4 separate regions of the Homo sapiens genome follow, and regions 1, 3 and 4 are each linked to region 2. Evidence: promoter capture Hi-C in 16 types of primary human blood cells and fetal thymus (Javierre and others, 2016). All regions are on one chromosome and are shown on one strand. The core of a region is centred on a gene start or on the middle of the fragment in contact, and the rest is flanking DNA. Distances in the headings are between cores, read along the strand shown. Region 1 has its middle 18 kb from the start of CD28. Region 2 holds the start of RAPH1 (Ras association (RalGDS/AF-6) and pleckstrin homology domains 1). Region 3 has its middle 41 kb from the start of CD28. Region 4 has its middle 80 kb from the start of CD28.

Region 1 (2,750 bases), core at 209-2,708, 150 kb after region 2:
TTTTGGATCTATTGTCAAGGACAGTATATCAAATGGTAGATGTTGACTGTTTGCAGAGCGCTCAGGAAGCTTTACATCATTATCCACAGCAAGAGGTCTGAGCTTGAGTGTGGTCCTCCCACTGCACATGTAATCTCAGATACTACATGTTCTACCTTGCTGAGTAATAGTAAGTAGAATGGAATGTTGGACTTTATCTAAAATGTGGGAGTAAAACAAGTACATGTGAAACTGCAGAGCTTATCATTCTGGTCCAGGTATCATGAGGAAAGGAGAAAACCATGGTTGGGAGCGGCCATCCACACCCAACTAGTATTTGGAACTGGAGGCTACAGAGAATTCTGCTACTGAGGTCTACAATGTTATTTGCCCTTTCTGCTCCTTGATCTTTCACTGCATAAACCATCTGGGAAGTGTCCTTTATGGTTGTCATTAAAATGCTGCCAGATTCCAGTATTGAGACCATAGGGAATGCAGTAGTGTGCGTGTGTGTGTTTGTGAGTGTGTATGTGTGTGTGCCATCCATGTGTGGGTAGATGAGATGCTGATGGGAACCGGATATACTAATGTATTCAGGGGTTCTTAACTAGGTGTCCAATGTAAACTTGGTTGAGAAAAAAATTATACCTTCCTTTTCATTATCCTCTCCAACTGAAATTTAACATTTCAATGATATATTTAAGTAACAAACCACAGTATTTTTTGCAGTACTTGTCACTTTGTCATCAATAGAATCACAGATATTTTCATGTCACATTATAGTTGTTCCAAGTATCTCAAAATATTACTTATGCTTACCACTACTTCAAAATTATGGTAGTTATCGGCTGGATGCGGTGGCTCACGTCTGTAATCCCAGCACTTTGGGAGGCCGAGGCGGGTGGCTCATGAGGTCAGGAGATTGAGACCATCCTGGCTATGGTGATACCCCGTCTCTACTAAAAATACAAAAAATTAGCTCGGCGTGGTGGCGGGGCCTGTTGTCCCAGCTACTTGGGAGGCTGAGGCAGGAGAATGGCATGAACCTGGGTGGTGGAGCTTGCAGTGAGCCGAGATTGTGCCACTGTACTCCAGCCTGGGCAACAGAGCGAGACTCTGTCTCAAAAAAAAAAAATTATGGTAGTTATCATACCATAGCTAGATTTAATATGTTAATGAAGCATATTTATTACTATATCATGAACATTTGTTTTTAAAAAAATATTTGAAAACTACATTTCAAAACTTTCAGTTTTCTTTGCAATCCAATGTATTTTATTTTATGCATTTCAAAACATGATTGTGAGAAGGGGTCTTTAGGCTTCCAGACCACCAAAGGGGTCCCTGACACAAAAAAGGTTAAGAGCTGTCAGACTTATTGGACATAGTCTTGCCAGGTGGATGTAAGAGGAATGTTGGGGACAAAATGCCCGCATATCCACTTTCATATGAGACTTTTTTTGCATACTGACTGAGTAGAAAAAGGGAAAAGGCAATAAGTACTTAACCTCATGCTTGCACAGAAACACATACATAACTTTGTCCAGCTTGTAGACTGAATTTCTGAGAAATAAAAAGACAGTAATAGATCTAGAGAGCTTAGAGAGAGATCTGCGAGAACAAACCCACAATCTTGGGTACATATTGTGCATTTCCATAAACCTTCCCTAAGTAGAGATCTGGGAAAAGAATGGACATAATTTTCTCGAAACTCTGACCTCTAGGACCTGGAGAAAGTCCATTCAGCCAGCCAGAGCCCTCCCTATTCCCTTGGGCGGTAGCCTCAGAGTCCTCTGGGACAACATCTGCAAGCGGAATGCAAATCACTAGCCTGTCTGCCACCCCTCATTGCTCAGCACCTTATGGTTGCTATTTTTAGGAAGTCCGAATTTCTCAATAGAGACACAGCATCACCAGCAAGCCCTGAGAAGTTAGCCTTGTTTCCCAAATGTCTGAGGGTGGACCCAGAGTAAACACTCCACCTTCACTCCCTTCTGCTGAAATTAAAATGCTTCTATTTCTGCAGCTTGAAGGGAGGAAAGAGAGAGGGAAGAAGAAATGTTTGTTCATTTCTTCAGGTATTTTAGAAATTGAACTTGCAAGCAGGGTCTGTCTCCAGTTAATCAAATAAAAATTCTTCTTAGTATCACAAGACAATTTAAAACTAGAAAAACTCAGAAACTGCATCTGACAAAGGTCTAATGCCCAGAATCTATAAGGAACTTAAATAATTCAACAAGCAAAAAAGAAACAACCCCATTACAAATTGGGCAAAGGACAGAGACTTCTCAAAAGAAGACGTACATGCAGCAAACAAGCATATAAAAAATCCTCAACATCCCTAATCATCAGAGAAATGCAAATCAAACCACTATGAGATGCCATCTCACATCAGTCAAAATGGCTATTATTAACAAGTCAAAAAATAACAGATGTTGGCAAAGTGGCAGAGAAAAGGGAACACATACACTGGTGGCAAATGAGGCCATTCACTCACCCCCATCCTCCACTTCCCACCCTCCACCACACAAACCGAACGATGGTTTCTGATAATGCCCCTTTCACTCATTCACACAGTCTGGCGGAAGCTCATTCTGAAGTGATGGTTTAATCGCAAAGAGCAAGAAGCCAGAGTCAAAGAATCCATCAGCTTTTCCAAGATTACAATCTTAGACTGGAAGGATTGTGTTTGAATCCTTTTCTGCTACTTACTAGATCTTTCCATCTATCAAATGGAATAATAATAATTACTCCTATACAGTAGTTCTGTG
Region 2 (2,700 bases), core at 161-2,660:
TTTTACTGATAGGGAACGTACTGCAGAGTTCAATAGCTTATCCAACTCACATTGCAAGCCAATTCCAGGGCGTACGGTTTCCCCCACTCCGAAGAGCTCTTTCCACCACCCCATGCTTGTTCACCTGGTGTCACCCAGCCTAACTGACAGAGTAGGTATTCCATAAATGTTTGCTGAATTTAATATCCCCATGGACTGACTCTTTAATAATCCGATCACGCCTCATCCCTAACCCGTTACCTTTACTGTTCCTTAACGGTGGACTTTACCTACATAAGCAGCTCTCCACATTTCCCTGAGAAATGCTGCAGACAACATCAACCCTTATTGGAAGATTGAGTGAAGAACTTTTCCATTCTCCCGGATTTCCCCAACGGATCTTCCCAAAGAATTTAAGAAATGCACACACGCAAGACACATGTAACACTTACACCCTCCCTCAAGGCTCTTATTTCATATTAAACCATGTCTTCGAGCTTGTAAGCAATAAGGTTTATGCGGTTTCCAGCTCACACAGTGGGGACACCCTAAGTCACTGCCTTAAGAAAACCACATCTTTCAACCTGTCTTAACACGAAGGCATCCTAATACTATCACACTGCCCCCTCCCTCCGTCCACCCCCCCCCCCCCCCCATGAATTGCAGTTTGGATTTCCGGCGGGAATGTATAATACAGACCGCAAGAGGAGACGCGGTTAAAAAGCAATGAAGCAATTACTTATCCTGTTTAATTAGAAAGAAGACACAGAAGGAGCCCCGCCTTTCAAAATCTCTGCACTGAACTCATCTATGAAAGATGGGGGCATCGAAACCCAAGCAACCCGACATCCAGTAGCTGGTTTCTGCAGCTGGGCGGGGGAAAGTCCTTTCCTCCCTGCGGTCCCGGGCCACCAGCCCCCGGTGCTGGGTCGGAGAAGCCTAACCGCACCCTCCCAGGCGGCCCCTTATCTCATTGTCTCCCTCCGTCGCGGTCCCCAGGGGCGCAGGGTGCAGTCCAGGCCCCACCGACCTCCATCCACCAGCCGGGAGCGGTCCAGCCAGCCCCGGCCCGATCCCCAACCTGGCAACGACCCCGCCCCAGGCTGCCGCCGACCGTACCGCACCCGGATGGCGGGGCCGGGCGCCGGGAAAATGGAGGCGGGAGCGGCAGGAGCGCCTCACGGCCCCGCGCCCAGCCGGCTCCCTACCCCCTGGCCCCGAGGGCGAGGCTAACCACTCACCGCGGCAGTCGGTCGGCCTTCCCGCGGCCCCGGGCAAGGAAACCGCCGCTCGCGCTCCTCCAGCCGCTGCCTCCGCCTCCTCCCCAGGCGCGGCGCTCCCTCGCCAGAGACGCAGCGACTGCCAGCAGCTCCCGCGCCGCGCGCTCAGTGACTGACTGACTGACTGACTGACTGACTGACTGACTGACTGGCGGGCGGCGGCGGGAGCGGGGGCGGGGCGGCCGCAGCGCCCCGCGGCGGCGGCGGCGGCGGCGGAGCCGAGTGTGCTCGCGTCCAGCCGAGACGCAGAAGGCGGGGTTGAGGGCCGGACTGCCGACTGTAGGGCCGACTCGCGCGGGACCGCGCGCCGCCCCCGCCCGCCGCCAACCACTCACTTCCGGCGCAGGCCGCCGCGCCCGCCGCCCTTCCCTAGCCCGCGCCCCGCGCCGGCCCTCCGCCCTCCCTTCAGGCGCCCGGCCGCGCCCGGCCGCACTCAACCGCGGCTCCGCTCGTGCCTCGCCTTTCCTCCGCAAGTCCCTGTGAGCCGCCTACAGGAACGAGTGAATCAGAGAATGAATGAGTGGGGAGGAAAATCCCAGTGCTGCCCCACCCCCTGCTCGCCTTTCATAGGAAGCCGGCCCAGCAGCCTCTGTCCTAGCGCCCTGGGAGGCACAGCAGCCTCCAGCAGTTCTGTCAGGGAGCTGTACGCATCCACCTTTATACGCTGTCCGTGTATTCAGAGACTCCAGAAACGCATCCGGGGTTGGCTCGGTCACTTACAGGACCATTGTCGTTGAGATCTGTGAGGCCCTTCTTTAGGAAATCCCATTTTGGCCAAAAAGTCTCTGCAGTTTCATGGAATGTATTGGGAAACTTAGGAACGGGACATTTCGATGACCTTTACTTTTTAAACTTCGAAATCTGTTAATCCTGCCTCCTTAATTTCTGTCCCCCCACCCCATCGGAATTGTGTAGTAGTAAGGTGTCGGCATTTTTCCTTATCGCTAAGCTCAGCTGCTGCCTCTTTAGATGCAGGCTTGACTTCGGCAGACTTTTAGATTTTAAGTATGTCCTTATTTTGACCTTCACCTAAAGTTGATCAAAGAAAGGAACAAATGGAACTAAGTTATGTTTGCTTGGCTACATGCAAAGCAAGTTTGTTGACAGCATTAAAACAATTGAGAAATTGGGAGTGTGACCTGAAATTGGTTGCAATGAACATTGCTTTTTCATGTCTTCCCATCTGCTTGCTAAGAATTTATTTAAATTTTCACAAAGCATTGACTGTACATTCCTGAAATCCTAGCTCCCTCTCTAAGAATGAGAGTGTTCATTTCTCTGTCCTGGGGCCAAATCCTGGTTTGGTTAATTACATTCTTACTTCCTGATATTCTTGAGGACTTTCAAGTGGTTTCAGTCTTTTTTGTACAATCTGTTCCAAACTGGTACACAATCTGTTTCAAATTGGTATTTAGAACCATACAATACAGATACTGGCTGC
Region 3 (2,928 bases), core at 24-2,523, 210 kb after region 2:
AACTGTTTATCCTTCCTTGGCAACAAACAGAACTCTAATTGTGTTCAGTTATCTACTCTCCATGTGCTCTGGGGAGTTCCAGGGAGTGGATAAGGATTAGTTTAAGCCAGAATGGTAGTCCTAACCTTCTCATCAGTGATTGGTTTAGGCATGGACACATGATAAAATTCTGACCAATAGCCTGACGGGTCTCTGATAAAGTTTCTTTTTGCTCTTTTTTTTATTTTGAGACAGTCTCACTCTGTTGCCCAGGCTGGAGTGCAGTGGTGCCATCTTGGCTAACTGCAACCTCACTGCAACCTCCAGCTTCCTGGGTTCAAGCAATTCTTGTGCCTCAGTCTCCTGAGTAGCTGGGACTACAGGCATGTACCACCATGCCTGGCTAATTTTTGTATTTTTAGTAGAGACAGGATTTCACCATGTTCGCCAGGCTGGTCCCGAACTCCTGACCTCAAGTGATCTACTTGCCTCGGCCTCCAAAGTGCTGGGATTACAGGTGTGAGCCACCGTGCTCAGCCTCTCCTTGCTCTTTAAAAAGAGATGTTTGGAAACAAAGTTTCCTTTCTGCTATAGAATGTTATGTCTGCAAGCAGCATCTGATATAGCCTCTTTGCGACCAGGGGAGGAATTGGCCTGAGAACATGCTGAGGCAGGAAGAGCAGAAAGAGGGGAGGAACCTGGATCTTGGTGACATTATTGAGCTGCAGATTGAGCCGACTTGAATTCTCCTTGCTTCCTTCCTTCCTTCCTTCCTTCCTTCCTCCCTTCCTTCCTTCCAGTTCTTGTCATGTGAGACAGTAAATAACTTTATTGTTTAAGCCCTTTTGGGTTAGATTTTCTATTACATGAAGTTTAAAGCATTCTGATAACTTCATGTTTATTGATGTGTATAAATACTAATATATTCTATTATTTGGGGGATACAAAGAATTTGACTCAATAGTATCTTGTTCTATTGACATGTTCAATTATTAATCACTGATAACCCTGAATAACTAAATGTTATTACCACATTTAGGACAATATCCACGTCCACTGACATATGAAATTTGGGCAATTTGCTTCTTTGGGAAGCATTATAAATCACAGAACAGCAGAGGATACAAAGACCCCCACAAGAGATCATCAAGATTTTCTTCTTCCCTTCTTTTTGTCATACACATTGCTGAGAAGGAGCACCTCCAGGAAGGAACCAAATTATTTGTATTTTTCTGTTATTTTTAGTTTTGAGACCCGGTCTCACTCTGTCACCCAGGCCGGAGTGCAGTGGTACAGTGGCTCACTGCAACCTCTGCCTCCCAGGTTCAAGCAATTCTCCTGCATCAGCCTCCCAAGTAGCTGGGATTACAGGTGCCCACCAGCACGCCCAGCTAATTTTTGTATGTTTTCAGTAGAGATGGGGTTTCATCATGTGGCCGGGCTGGTCTCGAACTCCTGACCTCAAGTGATCTGCCCGCCTCAGCCTTCCAAAGTGCTGAGTTTACAGGCATGAGCCACCAAGTCCAGCCAATATTTGTATTTTGAATTAAAGTATGTATGTGAAAAATGAGAACACTGGCTCACTTCCTGGTAATATAAAATACAACATATCAGTAAAATCTTCCATGATTCTCCTAGTTCAGTGATCTCTTTCTACCCCTGTGTTACCTAATGCTGGCCTAAACTCCAGCGGCCTGTAGAGGAGATTGGTTTTTGTAGTTGTAAAATAATATTTTAGGCTGGGTGTGGTGCCTCATGCCTGTAATCCCAGTACTTTGGGAGGCTGAGGCGGGCAGATCACGAGGTCAGGAGATGGAGGCCAACATGGTGAAACCCTGTCTCTACTAAAAATACAAAAATTAGCTGGGCGTGATGGTGCGTGCCTGTAATCCCAGCTACTTGGGAGGCTGAGGCAGGAGAATCGCTTGAACCTGGGAGGCGGAGGTTGCAGTGAGCCGAGATGGCGCCACTGCACTCCAGCCTGGGCAACAGAGCGAGACTCTGTCTCAAAAAAAAAAAAAGTCACGTTTAAAAATTCAAAGTATACTTATATTTAAAATTTTCTAATAATGAAATGTTATCATAAGACCAAAGTAGATGTACTGGGCCTGGATCTTCATCCTTTCAGTCTGTCTTTGATTCTGACAGTGGCACCTCCAGCAACATTGATCTTCTCTGGGGGCCCTGGGATAACACATTAGCTTCTAGAATGGCTTGGGGATTTCCTGCTTGTGTCCTATGAAAAGGACACAAACTGGCCACACATGTGTTCAGTCTAGTGATGGGGACTGAGAAGGACAGAAAGAGATTTGACAGAGTTTTGACCTTAGCAATTTACTACTTGGTTGGGGAAATAACTCGTCATAAAGGTAGTATATACTAAGCTCTAATTAAATGATATACAATTCAAGTTCAGAGGTGAAAGACTATTGTGGACTGGAATTCCAATCTGGCCCTGAAAAGCAATACACAGCTTTTCAAACTTGTGGGAAATAGAATAGCTTTGAGAAGGAGTACTTGCATTTTTAATTTTTAGAAATATTGCCAATTTGCTTTGCACAGAGGTTATATTGATATACAGTCCCATCAGTCACGTATGAGAGAGCCTTTTACCCTATTTATTCTCATTAGCACAGTGTTAACATGTTTGATCTTTGCCAGTTTGATAGTTTGAAATGATATTTTATCATTGAGTTGATTTGTGTTTCATTTTTATGAATCAGATTCATCATCTTTTCATTTCTCATAAGAGTCTTTTTTTTTTCTGTGAACTGTCTACTCATATCCTCTGCCCATTTTTTTTTCAGTTGTATTGTCAGCTTTTTAATGTAGAATCACTTCAAAGAAACTATTCCTTTGCTTGTAACTCCTTCATTTTAGAGATGAATAGATGTAAGAGGTAAGCTTATTGTTTCTTTGTTTATTCATCAGCTTTTATTAAGTATCCAT
Region 4 (2,700 bases), core at 150-2,649, 250 kb after region 2:
CTGGCTTCAGGAGTAAAGCGGCAGACCTTCACGGTGAGTGTTACAGCTCATAAAAGCAGCGTGGACCCAAAGAGTGAGCAGTAACAAGATTTATTGCAAAGAGCGAAAGAACAAAGCTTCCCCAGTGTGGAAGGAGACCCGAGTGGGTTGCCACTGCTGGCTTGGGCAGCCTGCTTTTATTCTCTTATCTGGCTCTACCCACATCCTGCTGATTGGTAGAGCCCAGTGGTCTGTTTTGACAGGGTGCTGACTGGTGTATTTACAATCCCTGAGCTAGACACAAAGGTTCTCCAAGGCCCCACCAGAGTAGCTAGATACAGAGTGTTGATTGGTGCATTCACAAACCCTGAGCTAGACACAGGGTGCTGATTGGTGTGTTTACAAACCTTGAGCTAGATACAGAGTGCCCATTGGTGTATTTACAATCCCTGAGCTAGACATAAAGGTTCTCCAAGGCCCCACCAGAGTGGCTAGATACAGAGTGTCGATTGGTGCATTCACAGACCCTGAGCTAGACACAGGGTGCTGATTGGTGTATTTACAATCTCCGAACTAGACATAAAGGTTCTCCACTTCCCCACCAGATTCAGGAGCCCAGCTGGCTTCACCCAGTGGATCCCGCACCGGGGCTGCAGGTGGAGCTGCCTGCCAGTCCAGGTGTCGTCCGCCGGCACTCCTCAGCCCTTGGCTGGTCGATGGGACTGGGCACCGTGGAGCAGGGGGTGGCGCTCATCGGGGAGGCTCGGGCCGCACAGGAGCCCACGGAGGGGGTGGGAGGCTCAGGCATGGCGGGCTGCAGGTCCCAAGCCCTGCCCCGCGGGAAGGCAGCTAAGGCCCGGTGAGAAATCGAGCGCAGTGCCGGTGGGCCGGCACTGCTGGGGGACCCAGTACACTCTCCGCAGCCACTGGCCTGGGTGCTAAGCCCTTCATTGCCCAGGCCCGCAGGGCCGGCCGGCTGCTCCGAGTGCAGGGCTCGCCAAGCCCACGCCCACCCGGAACTCCAGCTGGCCCACAAGCGCCGCGCGCGCAGCCCCGGTTTCCGCTTGCGTCTCTCCCTCCACACCTCCCTGCAAGCTGAGGGAGCCGGCACCGGCCTTGGCCAGCCCAGAAAGGGGCTCCCACAGTGCAGTGGTGGGCTGAAGGGCTCCTCAAGTGCCACCAAAGTGGGAGCCCAGGCAGAGGAGGCGCCGAGAGCGAACGAGGGCTGTGAGGACTGCCAGCACGCTGTCATCTCTCAATAGGATGCAGGTCAGAGGGCAGGGGTAAGAGGGAAAAACACCTGATTGCTTCTAAGAGTCTAAACGAAGGACACATCCCACCAGTGGTGGTGCACCATGAAGCATTTGAAGGTCCATATAAGACATTTCGAAGCCATGAATCTTGTTTGTTTATTAAAATTTTTTTTTGTTATACCGGAGCATAGAGATCTATCTTGGGGCAAAGTTTCAGAAAATAAGTAAAAGTCCAGTTTTCTAGATTCAGAACTATCAAAGGCTAGACAATGGCAATCAATAATAATGCTCCCCTCCATACCAATTTGAAAAGTTAAAAATTTTATCAGACATGCAGATGTCTTCACATTATGAAACAATTGTAACATTTTTTTCTCCTTCATTAAATGGCCGATTTGACAGCTGTTTCAACTCAACACTCTTATTTTGATTATTTGTTATTCAACATTTGGCCCTGATAGTATTGTCAATTCTAAAGTGCTAAGACTATATTTAAATCAACGGAAATATTTTGGTTATGTTTTATTTACGGGACTTTTCTCTGCTTGTCTTTTAACCTCCCTTAATAGCAGGCAGCCAAATTATTAGCTCATCTATTTTGGCAGAATAAAACAATTCATGGTTTAAAGAGTTTGGAAAAGGTAAAACTTCAGAGAAATATAACAACATCCAGCTTACAATGCTGTTTGTGTACTTTCTATAGGATGTGTAGCTTCATCCTGTAGGAGGATTTCCTCCATTTGAATCCCCAAGGCCTCTGACTGATTTCCCTCTTCCTTTGGTGCTGTTTGTGTTTAAAAAATAATGCCTGAGGGAAAGATAACCATCGTTCTGTTGCTTTGTGGACACATGCATTCTCATACAATTTCTGTTCCCTATTCCTTGTCAGTGATGAGATGAAGAATTGAGTGTAAGCACATCAAAATTGCACAGTAAGTGGTCAGGAGTCTTTCAAATAGCGCTAAAAGAGGCTGAATTGCCAGTGAGGAAGGCGCAGCTGGAAGCTAGATATTGCATCATCTGGCCTTCCTCTGCTGAACAAAGAAAATTATTTTGTGAAGTATGTACAGATGCTCTTATTTCAAGTGACATAATGCATTTGTTTCAATGGAGGTTTTCAATCTGCAACTTTGAAACTTTTCTGCATGTGGAAAACCCCATGACAATTCGTTGTACCCTAGGGTACATCTGAAAGAAAATTGTTGGATCTTAAAGCCAAACCAGCAATTTGGACAAACTTGGAGGATTATTTTTCTGGGATGTTTCCATTTAATATTACAACACAGAGGTTCTGCATTTATGTCAAAAGGGAAGGACTAGAAAAAGGCTTTCTGTAGGCCATGAAACTAGTTATGCTTTGCGATTGTAAATCCATATTGACCACTATAATTCAAGTGTTTAACTTGCATATTCTTAGAAACTGAATTTTTCAGAAAAGCAAGCATCAATATAAGCTTCTAAAATCAAA

The links. Contacts are between HindIII fragments. The CHiCAGO score rates a contact against its expected background, and 5 or more counts as called.
Region 1: a fragment that was not itself captured here is called in contact with the fragment with the promoter of RAPH1 in region 2 in 1 of 17 cell types (monocytes); the score reaches 5.0 in monocytes.
Region 3: a contact is called between a fragment that was not itself captured here and the fragment with the promoter of RAPH1 in region 2, in 3 of 17 cell types (non-activated CD4 T cells, total CD8 T cells and naive CD4 T cells). The highest score is 5.3, in non-activated CD4 T cells.
Region 4: a contact is called between a fragment that was not itself captured here and the fragment with the promoter of RAPH1 in region 2, in 1 of 17 cell types (M0 macrophages). The highest score is 5.3, in M0 macrophages.

The regions. Positions count from the first base shown.
Region 1 is chr2:203,687,189-203,689,938 of GRCh38, forward strand. No RefSeq gene overlaps it. Among named protein-coding and RNA genes, the nearest start is that of CD28, 18 kb to the right of the region's middle. The HindIII fragment of the contact is 2,782 bases long and covers 68-2,750 here.
Region 2 is chr2:203,533,891-203,536,590 of GRCh38, forward strand. It overlaps RAPH1 (Ras association (RalGDS/AF-6) and pleckstrin homology domains 1), which reads right to left and starts at 1,411. Exons shown (of 14, transcript NM_213589.3): 1 at 1,221-1,411. RefSeq lists silencers at 1,180-1,279, 1,350-1,439, 1,490-1,559. The HindIII fragment of the contact is 18,695 bases long and covers 1-2,700 here.
Region 3 is chr2:203,745,826-203,748,753 of GRCh38, forward strand. No RefSeq gene overlaps it. Among named protein-coding and RNA genes, the nearest start is that of CD28, 41 kb to the left of the region's middle. The HindIII fragment of the contact is 3,216 bases long and covers 1-2,881 here.
Region 4 is chr2:203,784,904-203,787,603 of GRCh38, forward strand. No RefSeq gene overlaps it. Among named protein-coding and RNA genes, the nearest start is that of CD28, 80 kb to the left of the region's middle. The HindIII fragment of the contact is 2,570 bases long and covers 115-2,684 here.